2 separate regions of the Homo sapiens genome follow, and region 1 is linked to region 2. The links are contacts of gene promoters, found by promoter capture Hi-C in blood cells and fetal thymus (Javierre and others, 2016). All regions are on one chromosome and are shown on one strand. Each heading gives the region's core, a stretch centred on a gene start or on the middle of the fragment in contact. The rest is flanking DNA. Distances are from core to core; before and after follow the strand shown.

Region 1 (7,202 bases), core at 3,801-6,300, 710 kb before region 2:
TGCTCAGATCTCGGCCAGCATACACAATCCCATACGTGCCTTTCCCCAAGACAACTCTCTCACCATTTGCATCATGGTCATACTCATACTGAAGAAGGAAAAACAAAAGGACAAAAAAGCATACAACTTGTAGCGGAGAAGCCCTCTAAGGCCCCCAGAGTTGTCTAGCAACTAAAAAAAATATAAATAACATTATTTGACTGTCAGGCAAGTCACAGTGCTTAGCTTAGGCCCTTTTCATTAAATGACTTTAAAGGGGCAGAATTCTCCATTGTTCACCTGTTCATAGTATGACTTTATGAAATGGAATCCAAGAAAATTAAAAATATGGTTTGCATATAATTGGCTCACCTTTTGGAAATTCTTCCCCATTTTAACGCTGCAATTTAAAACTGCTTCTAAGCATGTTGAATAACCCAACTAGGTGTCTTCCTGCATAATCCCTTATCAAGTTGTCAGGAAACAAATATCTTTCAATAACCCAGAAAGGAATTGAAGGTCAATATAATTAACATTATCTTAATACAAAAAGTAAATATGCTGGGGCTTCCCCACTCTTTCAGGCATACGGATCTAGTAGTAAACACCTAGTACAAAAACTTGATTTACAATTAGCATTACTATTTTGTTCCCCCATCTTCCCATCAAAAGCTGTCACATACAGATGCATTTGATTCTTCTCGATGATTAAAACAAATGTGACTGTACGCTGAGCAACACTTATTTAAAGCAGAGAGGCAGCAATCAATTTTTTCTGTTATTTTGCATGCTCCACTGCTTCTACTTACAGAAGTGCAGCTTATACACGGAATAGTCGGCGGGTATGTGGGTGTCCTTTCCCATCTACTTCTAGGGATGTTCATGACAATTAAGATTACTAAAGGGTTGGCTGGACACTGTGGCTCATGCTTGTAATCCTAGCACTTTGGGAGGCCCAGGCAGGAGGACCACCTGAGACCAGCATGGCCAACATAGCGAAACCCCATCTCTACTAAAAATACAAAAATTAGGCCAGGCGTGGTGGCTCATGCCTGTAATCCCAGCACTTTGGGAGGCCGAGGCGAGTAGACCACCTGAGGTCAGGAATTCGAGACCAGCCTGGCCAACATGGTGAAATCCCGTTTCTACTAAAAATACAAAAAATTAGCCAGGCGTGGTGGCACGTGCCTGTGGTCCCAGCTACTCAGGATGCTGAGGCAGGAGAATCGCTTAAACCTGGTAGGTGGAGGTTGCAGTGAGCCAAGATCACGCCACTGCACTCCAGCCTGGGTAACAGAGGAAGACTCCATCTCTAAATAAATAAAATACAAAAATTAGCCAGGCGTGGTGGCGGGTGCCTGTAGTCCCAGCTACATGGGAGGCTGAGGCAGGAGAATCGCTTGAACCCAGGAGGCAGAGGTTGCAGTAAGGCGAGATTGCGCCACTGCACTCCACTCCAGCCTCAGCAACAGCGTGAGACTCTGTTTCCAAAAAAAAAAAAAAAAAAAAAAAAAAACATGGTTAGTAAAGGATCTCCATCAGTGTCTGATGTAACTGGCAATCAGCCTGCTCCATAGAAGACTTTTACCTCACACCTCCCTCCGATTCCCACACCTGCTGCCCTCAAAGCACCATTGCTCAGTTCATTTCTACAACAAACTCTGGTCCTGACCTAAGAATTCTAGTAGTTAACTCAATTATTAAAATGAATCCCTTTGATATTTTCTGAAAGAAACATTAAGGAATTCCTTTCAGTCTAACCTGAAAGTACAGTAAAATCTCATTAAATTGTAATCACTGGAAGAACCTGAGTGAGTGGCAAATCTGAATAACTGGGCAAGATTTAAACACCTGTACAATGGTTTAGCAACTGTGGACTATAACTGTGCTGTTAAAAAGAGCTGATGAGCCTACTTTTTAAAATGATTTTAAAGTTGTTATATTTCATATAGTATATGCACATAGCTATAACTAAAGTCATTTTAAGCATAAAACGTCTGCTCTCAGTTGGCCAACTAATTCTCTTGTAGTCTCACAGACATTACTAATTAGCCTAGAGAAAACTTTCATAGGTTGTTCACAAAAGGAAATTTTAGTCTAGTCCATGGCCAAATTTTTCTTAAGCATTCTAACTGAGAGAATCCCAAAGAAATGAGATTCTTCTCTGGAGACACATTCAACATTATCTCTGGGAACCATGCAGTGATGGCTGGCAGGTTCATAAAACATACTCAACAGAGGATTTTTATAGAAAGATGGGACATTTTCTTGAAGCATCGAACACACAATCAATGTTTTCCATATTCTAGATCGTCCATGACTCACCTCCAAGGTGTCTCCATCGGTCTCTCCCTCCAGCTCCACCGTACTGCCTGCTGTATTGGTTATCATCTCTTTGACCAAAGAGAAAAATCTAGAACAGCAAGTGTCACAAATACGTTGCCAACTCAGAACTGCTCTCATTCCTTGTTTTTAACTTAGCTTTATTAAACTGTACTTAAATATAAACCAAACTTTTACAAGTCATGGAACAATCGATCCCCTCCTTGATTTGACGTGGTACTTTAGTGGTTATCAAATCTAGGGCAACTACCAATGTGATACCTGAATCCCCTCTGTATAGTATCTCCACCAACTGGTTGACCAATTGATGCTTGAGTACCTCCAGCAACAGAGAACTCATTACCTCCCAAAGACAGCTCATTCTTGGAAGATCTTAATGAGAAATATTTCCCTTTTACTGAACCAAAGACTTCTTTCATGTGGGTTCCATCCACAGTTTGCTTAGAATTAACCATTTTTCTACTTAACACCCCATTAGAAGTGCACATAATTTTACCATGTCCCTATAAGTCTTTCCTTTCTGTCCCATCACTGTTTTCCCCAGGACGTGTGAGTTACTCTACTAGCAGGTAATTCTTCAGATGACGTCCCTGTGTTACTCTTTTTCTTTTTTTTTTTAAAGACAGGGTCTCGCTCTGTCGCCCAGGCTGGAGTGCAGTGATGTGATCACAGCTCAATGCAGCCTCAGCCAGCCTCCTGAGCTCAAGCAATCCTCCCACCTCAGCCTCTCAAGCAGCTGAGACTACAGGCACCCATCACCAAGCCCGGCTAATTTTTGTATTTTTTGTAGACGGGGTCTCACTATGTTGCCCAGCTTGGTCTCAAACTCCTGGACTCAAATGATTCTCCCACCACGGCCTCCGAAAGTGTTGGGAGGCATGAGCCCCCGCACCCAGCCTCTTGTATTATTCTTGAAGTCTGGCCCCAAGACCAGTGTTCAGAGGGGATCTAATCAATGCTAAGGATAGGGGGACTATTGCCTCTCAAAGTACAGACAATCTAGTTCTCAGTAAGATACAGGGTGTTGTATAAGGGGAATGGTGAGGAGGAAACGCATAAGGTGGCCACATCATTCTGCTGACACAGAACAAGCTTAATATTGACCCATAAATCTTTCTCACAAATTCTACTGGGCCACGTGGGCCACTTCCTAGACTTGTGCAGTTTTTATTTGGATACAAGTCATCTTGACTCATTAGAACATTTTTACTCACAATTCTCTCTTAAGATGTCAAGGAGGAATACTGTACATTTCAGGATAATTTCCATAAACCATTAAAATGCTCTTTTTTCTAACTAACCCATCTTACCTTTTCTTCTAATCTTTGAAAGCTGGATAACCCAATCGTCAGGCTTCTTAAGAGACATATGGTATGCACTCACAGAACAACTAAGATTTAAAAGACGGTATCAGCCAGGTGTAGTGGCTCATGCCTGTAATCTTAGCACTTTGGGAGACTGAAGCGGGAAGACTGCTTGAGGCCAGGAGTTCGAGACCAACCTGGGCAACGTGGCCGAAACCCCGTTTCTACAATTTTTTTTTTTTTTTAAATTAGCCAGGTGTGGTGGCACACACCTGTAGTCCCAGCTACTCAGGAGACTGAGGTAGGAAGATTGCTTGAGACCGGGAGGCAGAGGTTGCAGTGAGCCAAGACTGCGCCACTGCACTCCAGCTGGGCAAAAGAGCAAGACTCTGTCTCAACAGAAAAAAAATAAAAGATGATATCAACTGTTCTTAAGAATACGGAACAACTGGGACTCTCATACATTGCTAGTGGGAGTGTAAATTGACATGACCACTTTGGAAAACTCTTGGCAGTATCAACAACCAAAGCTGAAGATAAACCTACCCTATAATCCAGTAATCCACTCCTAGATATATACTCAATAGAAATCAATATATATGTTCACCAAAAGGCATATATAAGAATGTTCATAGTCATTTTCTTCATAATAACCCCCAAACAGAAACAATCCAAGTCTTCATTAATAGAAGAACAGATAAATTGGAACACAACGGAATGCTACACAGAGAAAGAATGAACTGATATATACTTCACAGTTGGATTTCATTTTGTTTCTTGTTTTTGAGATGGGGTATCACTCTGTCACCTAGCCTGGAGTGCAGTGGCGTGATCATGGTTCACTGCAGTCTCGACCTCACAGGCTCAAGCAATCCTCCCACCTCATCCTCCCAAGTAGCTGGGACTGGAGGCGCACACCACCACGCCCAGCTAATTTTTTTATTTTTTGTAGAGACGAGGGTCTCCCTGTGTTGCCCAGGCTGGTCTTGAACTCCTGGGATCAACCGATCCTCCTGCCTTGGCCTCCCAAAGTGCTGGGATTACAGGTGTGGGCCACCGTGCCCAGCTATGAATATTATTTTAAGGGAAAGAGGTGAGAAACAAGGGTACAAACTACATGATTCTGTTTATTTGTAGGTCAAGAACAGGTGAAACTAACCATTGGTGGTAAAAATCAAAACAGTTATCACTGGAGGGAGTTTAATGACTGTGAAGGGGCACAAAGCAACTTCTGGGGTGCTGATCTGGGAGGCAGGTACAAGAATGTATATATGTATCAAAATTTATCAAGCTGTACACTTAAGTGCACATTACAAACTTGTTTATACGTTACACATCAATAAAAAAATTATTAAAATGTATTTTTAAAAAAAGGCACTGAGTACTGAATGAGGGTCAAAAGGGCACATTTTGTAGTAGTAAAAGGATGTTCTGCTTAATATTAGGTTTTTAATGGCAAAAACTGCAATTACTTTTACACCAATTTATATTTGGCAGCATTTTTTCTACTGTAAATTGAAGGTTATGATCCAATGATTCCCTAGTCTGCTATTTATTCTATTCTTTTTTTTTTTTTTTTTTGACAGGATCTTGCTCTGTCGCCCAGGCTGGAGTGCAGTGGCATGATCACCACTCACCACAGCCTCAACCTCCCAGGCTCAGGTGATCCTCCCACTTCTGCCTCCTGAGTAGCTGGGACTACAGGTGTATGTCACCATGCTGAGCTAATTTTTTTTTTTTTTGTACTTTTTGCAGAGACGGGGTTTTACCATGTCGCCCAGGCTGGTCTCGAACTGCCCACTCAAGCAATCCTCCTTCCTCAGCCTCCCAAAGTGCTAGGATTACAGGCATCAGCCACCACACCCAGCCTAGCCTAATCTTTAAATATGTTGTGACAATGATTGTCTGAGACACAATGAATTAAGACTTTCTCAAATTACATGATACAAATGAACTATGAATAAAGGGAACTTCCTCAATCTGATAAAGGTTATCTATGAAAAATCTGCTGCTAACATCATACTTAATGATGAAAGACTAACTTCTTTCTTCTTAAAAACAGGAACAAAATAAAGATGTCTACTCTCCCTATTTCTATTCCACATTGTGCTGGAGAGTCTAGCTAGGATAATTAGGCAAGGAAAATAAAGGCATCTAGGTTGGAAAGGAAAAACTAAAACTGTATCTGCAGATGACATGATATTGCACATAGAAAACCCTAAGGAATTCAATAAAACCCATTAGAGCTAATACATGAGTTCAGCAAGGTTGTAAGTTACAAAATCAACATTTACAACTCAAGTGTATTTCTAATACATTATCAGTGAACATCCAAAAGTGAAATTAAAAAAACTCCAGTATCAAAATAATAAAATCCTTAGGTATGTACTTAATAAAAGAAGTACAAAATTTGTACACTGAAACTACAAAACTATCATTGAAAGAAATTCAAGAAAACCTAAGTAAATAGAAATCCATCTTGTGTTCATGGATTGGAAGCCAGGATGGTTAATATGGCAATGCTCTCCAAATTGATCTAGATATCCAACGTATTCCCTGTCAAAGTCCTAGCTGCCATTTTTCTACAGAAATTGATAAGCTGATCCTAATATTTACGTGGAAATGCAAGCATCCACAATAACCAAAACAATCTTGAAAAACAAGAACGAAGTTGGAGGGCTCACATTTCCTGATTTTACAACTTACTACAAAGCTACAGTAATAGAGAAAGCATGGTGCTTGCATTAAGAATAGACATACAAAACAATGGAACGGAATTGAGAGTCCAGAAATAAACTCCTACATTTGTGGTCAACTGATTTCCAAAAAGAGTACCAAGACCACTCAATCAGGGAAAGAATAGTCTTTTCAAGAATAGTCTTTTCAACAAATGGTGCTAGGACAACCACATATCCACGTTAAAGAATAAAGTTGGAACCCCTACCTTACACCACATCCAAAAATGAATTCAAAATGGGTCAAAAACCTAAACATATAAAAGTTAAAACTATAAAACTCTTGGAAGAAAACATAAAAACCATAGAACACCTCAGGCTAGACAAAGCTTCTAAGACAAGAGCCAAAGGCACAAATGACAAAAGAAATAAATAGGTAAGTTGTACTTCATCCAAATTAAAAACTTTCGTGCTGCAAGTGATACCATCGAGAGAGTGAAAAGACAACCTACAGGATGGGAAAAAGCATTTGCAAATCATATCTGATAAAGAACTTACATAGAGAAAAAATATATCACATATATATGTATATATCACTCTTAAAATCAATAATAAAATGATAAATAACCCAATTATAAGTGGGCAAAGTTTGGAGATAGCTGGCAAACACCACTTTCACCAGATGATCCACGTTAACATCACCAATGATGACACAGAAATATTGTGTCCCTTGTTATGAGGCACTGAGAAGGACACAACATCATTTCTGTGATATTCCTGCCAAATACATAACATCAGTGTACTCATGAGGAAACGATAAACAAATCCAAGTCAAAGGACTACCCAAAATAAACTGTCTGTACTCTTGGAAAGTATTAAGTCAAAAAAGACAAAGACTGAT
Region 2 (6,815 bases), core at 1,994-4,493:
TTTTTTTTATTTTACAATTTTTAATTTTTGTGGCTACATAGTAGGTAGTAGGTGCATATATTTCTGGGGTACATGAGATGTTTTGGTACAGGCATGCAATATGAAATAATCATATCATGCAAAACAGGTTAGCCATCCCCCTCAAGCATTTATCCTTTGTGTTACAAACAATCCAGTCATACTAGTAGTTATTTTTAAATGAACAATTAAATTATTATTGACTATAATTACCCTGTTGTGCTATCAAATACCAGGCCTTATTAATTCATTCTATTTTTTTATACCCATTAACCATTCCTACCTCCTTCCCACCCCCCAGTACCCTTCGCAGTCTCCAATAACCACCTACTCTCTATCTCCAGGCCCCACCCTATTTTGTTTTTCTTTCGAGACGGAGTCTCGCTCTGTCACCCAGGCTGGAGTACAGTGGCGCGAGGTCAGCTCACTGCAACCTCCGCTTCCTGGGTTCAAGCGATCCTATGCCTCAGCCTCCCAAGTAGCTACGATTACAAGCATGCGCCACCAGGCCCGGCTAATGTTCGTATTTTTAGTAGAGATAGGGTTTCACCATGTTAGCCAGACTGGTCTCAAACTCCTGACCTCAAGTGATCCACCTGCCTCGGCCTCCCAAAGTGCTGGGATCCTGGGCATGGTGGCGCAGAAGTTGCAGTGAGCTAAGATTGTGCCACTGCACTCCAGCATGGACAACAGAGTGAGACTTCATCTAAAAAGAAAGAAAGGAAATATGGTTGAGATCTGGTGATTCTATCTGCTGGTTAAAGGTTGTTAAGCAGATTGAAACAAGCACTTGCTCATTTGTTATACTATGTGTATCAGACAAGCACTAAAATGGACAGTAGATCTGGTAATTTCTATTCAGAGGTAATTAAAAGGAAAGAAAGAAGGCATCACTAGGGGGTAATGGGAACATGCACAGGATTTCAATATCGGAAGAACCTGTTGCTAGAGGAAACCACCAGCGGTATTTCCTTTCCGTCTTTTACACAGCTCCCAGGAAAACCACTTGCCAACTCATATCCCCTAAGTGTGCAACACAAAATTGTTGGACAGCCTAAACATCTCAGGTCTTTCTGTATTTTGCAGCCTTGACAGCACCCAGCCCAAGCTTAGGAACAATGGTTGACTCTCTAGAAAAGCAGGTTAAGTCTCATTAGGAATGGGTCCCAAATGCTAAGGGCCTGGGTAACCAAGAATGATCAGTATCCAGGACAGATAATTATAAAACCTCAAAATCATAATTTTTCTAAGGAGACTTTACTTAAGTACCTGGCCTTGCTAACTCCCCCAAACAACAAATGGTGGTATCACCTGGCACCTAAATTAAACATTCCAATTTTACCATACCAACCTTAATGCACATAGGTGCTTATTTCACATTTTAAACCTTCACACATATTTTTCTATATTTCCAATTTCAAATGAAGGAAGATATCCTTAAGCTAATCTTAATATCAGAAGAGTGCATTAAATGATTCTACAATAGTTTCCAAACAGAACTTATTAAGAATCTCCCCCGCAAAAGTACCTCCTCCCCTTCCCCAATTTTGTTTCCATTAAAAAAAAAAAAAAAAAAACCCCTTAAGTTCCTTCAAATAAAATCCAAGATACACTGAAAACCCAATCATACCGCCCCTCCCCACCTCTCATGAGTACAACAGAACATCGAAACAAACTATTATTTAAGCTCTCAACCAAATAAAAATGCAAACTGAAACAACCTCTCCTTTTCAGTGTTTTATTATACAAGGTCGCCTCTGCCACGGAGGGTCGTTCTGGTGGGTAGTTTCCAGGTTCTTCCCTAGCAGATGCAGCTTGAGTGTTTCAAGCAAAAAGGATAAAAACAAAAGCACACATTTCAAAGGTAGTTATAACGTTATCCTGTGACAGTTAATGAATTCTGCCTTTAAAATAGCATAATGAAAAATACAAACTGGAAATGATTTAAGCTATCTCCTCCTCCTAAGAATGATGCAACTGAAGGCCCAGTCAGAAAATACTACCTCGCCCCCTCAACCCCAGTGAAAAAGCGTGTTTTAAGAAGATTTCTCTTGATTTCTTTCCTTTTCTTGGCCCATCGTATATAAAATACTCCCATCTTCACTATGTGATAATTCATCGAATTATAGTTTTGTGTGGTTTTTTAAATGCATATTAGACTGCAATAAAAAATGTTTTAAAAATAGCCTGCCTTATTAACTAAAAATAAAAAAGTTGTTGTCAGGAAAAACAGCATGAAATCGGTTTCCATGCTGCTTACACCCCCGCACTACCTGCAACCACTTTACAGAACGTTAGCATCAGACCTGCTTATCTAAAATCCTGCCAAATGTCCTCACAGTCTCCTCCGCTGCCTCGCTGGCTTCTGGGCAGCCAGGGACCAGCCCTCCATGGCTCCCAGCATCGGCAGCCTCGAGGGCTGAGAGCCTTGTTTGCCCCGCTGCCTCGATTGAGGGCCGCGGCCCGGCCACCTGAGCAGCGTTCCCAAGACAGGGAGCGCATCCGGGCGGGAGGAGCACCCGGTCCGGGGCAGACGCCTGGCCGCCCGGGCGAATCTGCCTCTGCCAATGGGTGACACGCCGATTTTGCCCCCTGGAAACGCCAAGAGGCGCGAAGCTGGGCCACCTTCGCCGCGGGCTGCAGCGGCGCTCGCGCGCGTTTCCCAGAACGCAGAGAGAGCGCGCGCGGAGGCCGGGGCAACCCCAGAACCCCGCTCGGTTTATCCTAACGACCCCCATGCCGGCTGCTCCTCGAGGACGGGGACTGGACCCGCAGCACCCCCTCAGGCACCTCCATCCCAAACACACCTGCCGCCCACCCTAAGCCACCCCCCATGTGTACCCACTCACCCAGGTCGCCCCAAGAAAGAACCCCGCCACTCGCACAGAGAGGGGTGCGGCCCTTGGATGCACGTCCGGACGATCCTGGGCCAGGGAAAGGGCGTTTATCTCAGCTCTGCGCCGTGCCCCTTCCCCCCACGCTCGAGGACCTTTGCCCTGGGCCGCCGGGCCCGCCCCCCCACAGGAACCCGAAGCCCTCGGGCGCCCGCCACACTCTGGGGATAATACCTTGAGGCCGGTAGTTGGGCTGAGAGGTCCGCACCGCGCCCGGTTCTGCGATCTTCCCTGGGAGAGAGGTTCCCCGCGCAGTCCCCTCAGGCCGGGATCCCGTCCCGGAGCCGCCGCCGCCGCGCTCCATCGGGATGCGCCGGCCGCACAGGCGCACTGCCAAGCCCGCCGCGCCGCACCGAACCCGCGCGCGTCCGCATGCGCACGCGTCCTCACGCAGCACGCGCGCAGGGCGTGCACGTGCGATAAGCGCACCGGTTACCACGCACAGCGCACGCAAGGCGTGCACGTGCGATAGGCGCACCGCTTCCACGCACAGCGCACGCAGGGCGTGCACGTGCGATAGGCGCACCGGTTCTCACGCGGCGCGCGCTTGTAGCGTGTGCATGCAATGTGCACAACAGTCCTCACACAGCGCGTACGGGCGTGCACGCGTCCTTACACGCTGCTGTACACAGTGCACACACAGAAGGCGTGCGTACGCACACAGTTCTTCATACGATGCTTACATGCAACATGCACACACAACGTGCACACCCAGCGTAAATGCATCTTCTCACAGTAGCAGATACACACTCAAAGCGTGTGTAGATGTAGGGTGCAGTTTCTCAGACACCGTGCACACACATCCTCACTCAATGTGTGAACACAGAGCACATAACGCGCACACACGTGCTCACTCAGCACGCACACGCTTACACTCACTGGGTGTCTGCATGCAAACTCAGCAATGCAGCCTTGGGAACAATTTCTGGCTAGGCCCCCAGGTGGGTGCCAGTTGGGCCAGTGACATCTGTGCAGACGCCAGAGGACCCGCCCTCCATGCATAGTTAGGTTCCAGTTTTCGAGGCGCACGGGTAATCAGTGTTTAGTGACGCCCCACCCTCAGCGTGCGGTCACCCAGAGAGGGACAGCAGCAAGCTATTGGGGTCGATCTTCAACTAAGAGGCAGCGGCACGCGCCGTAGGCCGACCTAGGCCTTTCAACGACACCCTACTCCGCAGCCAATTTGGTTCCTCTTCTCCTGAGGCGTAAATAATGCTGACTGAAACCTCCGCGATGCCGGGTGTGGTGGCTCCCGCCTGTAATCCCAACACTTCGGGAGGCTGACGCGGGCGGATTGATTGAGCTAAGGAGTTCGAGACCCCCGTCTCTACAAAAAAATTTTAAAAATTAGCTGGGCATGGCGACTCATCTGTGGTCCCAGCTACTTGGGAGGCTGAGGCGGGAAGATCGCTTGAGCCCGGGAGGTCGAGACTGCAGTGATCACGCCACTGCACTCCAGCCTGGGCGACAGAGACCTTGTCTCAAAAGCAAAATAAAACAAAAAACCTCTGAGGAGGATCTCTCCGAGAAGACACACAAGAAACTGCTAAACGGGTTGCCTCCTAAGTAGGCACTTTTACCACTGCCATGCACATTTATTATCTTTTCAAAAACATTGAAAAAGACATCTTGGCAGGGCCGGCTCAAGCCTTTTGTTTACCCAGGCCTGCCAAGTGATAACCCGTTCCCATGGAGCCCCAGGCTGCATGTTTTTTCTCGTTGGAAGGTGACCAGCCTGAAAGTTTTATTACCACTCCTGGGGGGAGATATACACGATTAAAAATGAAGCTGAATAATGGGTACAGGTTTTCTTTTTTGGATGAAAATATTCTAGGATTATGATGAGTGCACAACTAAGTATACTAAAAACTATTGAATTGTACATTTTAAGCGGGTGAATTTTATGGTCCCTTAATTATGTCTCATTTTTTTTTTTTTAATGTGAAGCTGAAACTCTCAGGAATGGGCACCTGTACTCTTGGCCAAAGCTGGGAAAGTCCCTTTGTGGCACAAAAAATGTTTGTGATGAACGTGTTCCTGACACGCCCAAAGGTGTGCCGGGAGTAGGGTTCAAGTGTGGTGAGAAAGCCAGGAAGTTTAAACATAAATGAGTAGGAAAGTGAGCAGGTGGGGGCTGGTACCCTGAGCTGTAATGAAAACTCGAACACATTGAGATTAAGCCAAATTAAGAGCGTGGGAGCTGTCACTTTCTCCTCCCTTATCTTAGGGACCTTTGGTGAGTTCAATTCATCCAACTCTTGAGCTCATGGACATGTGTGTGTAGCATCCCTCTCTACTTTTATTCTATTTTTGGGGTCCTTTTACTTTCCATTCCTCTCCCTAATTATAAACACCTCCTCTGATATCTTTGCAGCTGCAATTTTGAAATACTGTTTTGAAGATACGCATGTATTTTAATTGTATATAAATGACACTGCATAAAAGCTATCATTCTATTTGTTTTTCCTCTCTTGGCATTGTTCTCAATCTACACAAAATGATTAGCCATTCTATCTGGTTTACCCTTCTGTAAATTCCCTGTTCAATCCTTGCCCACCTTTCCACTGGGCTACTCTGGTTGATTTCCAGGAGTTTCTTGTATTCTAGATAATTTCTGGTTTAAATGTTGCAAATATTTTATCCTAGCCAACTAAGCTTTTTAAGATTGGTAAAATTTTCCTTAATTTTTATGACAAAATCCTATTAACATGTTTACTCCATTTACAATATTGCCCTATTTTTTATCAACTGTTTTTGAAAGTTACATTACAAATACTTCCATGTGTATTTCCTAAGATTATGAATGTTCTGTTACACATACTAGAGTTGACTACCAACTTAAGTTTCACATGGATACAGTAATTTTCTCTCCATTGGCTGTTCCTCCACCTTAGAGGTAGTTTTCCTCTTGCAAAATGCACTGTGGTGAGGCACCTTAAGGCTATGCAGGTACTTACTCTTCGTCAAAAATTCTCTCTAGATTTAGCATCCATTGATGGTTCTTGCTTGATCTGATCTCATAATGATTACGAAGTGATAAAATCCATAAATTTTTCACCTTATGGTTTGCATTTTAAGAAGTCTTAATACGAACTTCCCTAGTCCCAAGATACTCCCCATTGCCCTCATGCTTATAGTAAAAAACGTAAAAAAAAAAAAAAAAAAAAAAAAAAGTAAAAAATGCTTTACTCTTAAGCAATTTTTCTGTATAGGGTGAGGTAAAGAGCCAAATCCACTTTTCTCTCCGAAGTGTAGTTTGGTCAGCACTACCTGCTTACCTATCCTTTCCCCAGTAATTTTTGAAGCCACTTTTTAAAAAATCAAGTACCTAATTTCCATAGTAGGTGAGATAGCTTCTGAGCTATCTATTCTGATCTTCCTGTTACTGCATCTATTATTCACTACTATGGCTTAGGGTGCAATTTATTTGTTGAATTCCCTCTTAGCAGTGTTTCTAGAATTCTTTGAAATTCAGTATTTCCACATGAATATATTTTAGGATGTTTTTGCAATCTCCCACCAAGGCCTGCTGTAATACTAAATGTAATTATATTGAAGTCAGAGGTTAATTTGGAGAAAATTGACATTTTCGACATTATGACAGAATATCCAATAGTGTAATTTCTATTTAAGCTTTTAAAAAAAATGACTTTCGAGTTTTCCGTGCTTTTCCCACTACACTAACTTCCTATAAAAATCTATAGCATGGCCGGGCGCAGTGGCTCACCCCTGTAGTCCCAGCACTTTGAGAGGCTGAGGCGGCCAGATCACCTGTGGTCGGGAGTTGAGACCAGCCTGACCAATATGGGGAAACCCCATCTCTACTAAAGATACAAAATTAGCCGGGTGTGCTGGCGCATGCCTGTAATCACAGCTACTCAGGAGGCTGAGGCAGGAGAATCA

The links. Contacts are between HindIII fragments. The CHiCAGO score rates a contact against its expected background, and 5 or more counts as called.
Region 1: a fragment that was not itself captured here is called in contact with the fragment with the promoter of MAP7D2 in region 2 in 1 of 17 cell types (neutrophils); the score reaches 6.6 in neutrophils.

The regions. Positions count from the first base shown.
Region 1 is chrX:19,398,272-19,405,473 of GRCh38, forward strand. It overlaps MAP3K15 (mitogen-activated protein kinase kinase kinase 15), which reads right to left. Exons shown (of 29, transcript NM_001001671.4): 14 at 2,305-2,392; 15 at 1-88. Among named protein-coding and RNA genes, the nearest start is that of PDHA1, 58 kb to the left of the region's middle. The HindIII fragment of the contact is 3,276 bases long and covers 3,413-6,688 here.
Region 2 is chrX:20,113,664-20,120,478 of GRCh38, forward strand. MAP7D2 (MAP7 domain containing 2) reads right to left here and starts at 3,244. Exons shown (of 17, transcript NM_001168465.2): 1 at 3,087-3,244. The coding sequence starts at 3,216. The HindIII fragment of the contact is 4,441 bases long and covers 1,125-5,565 here.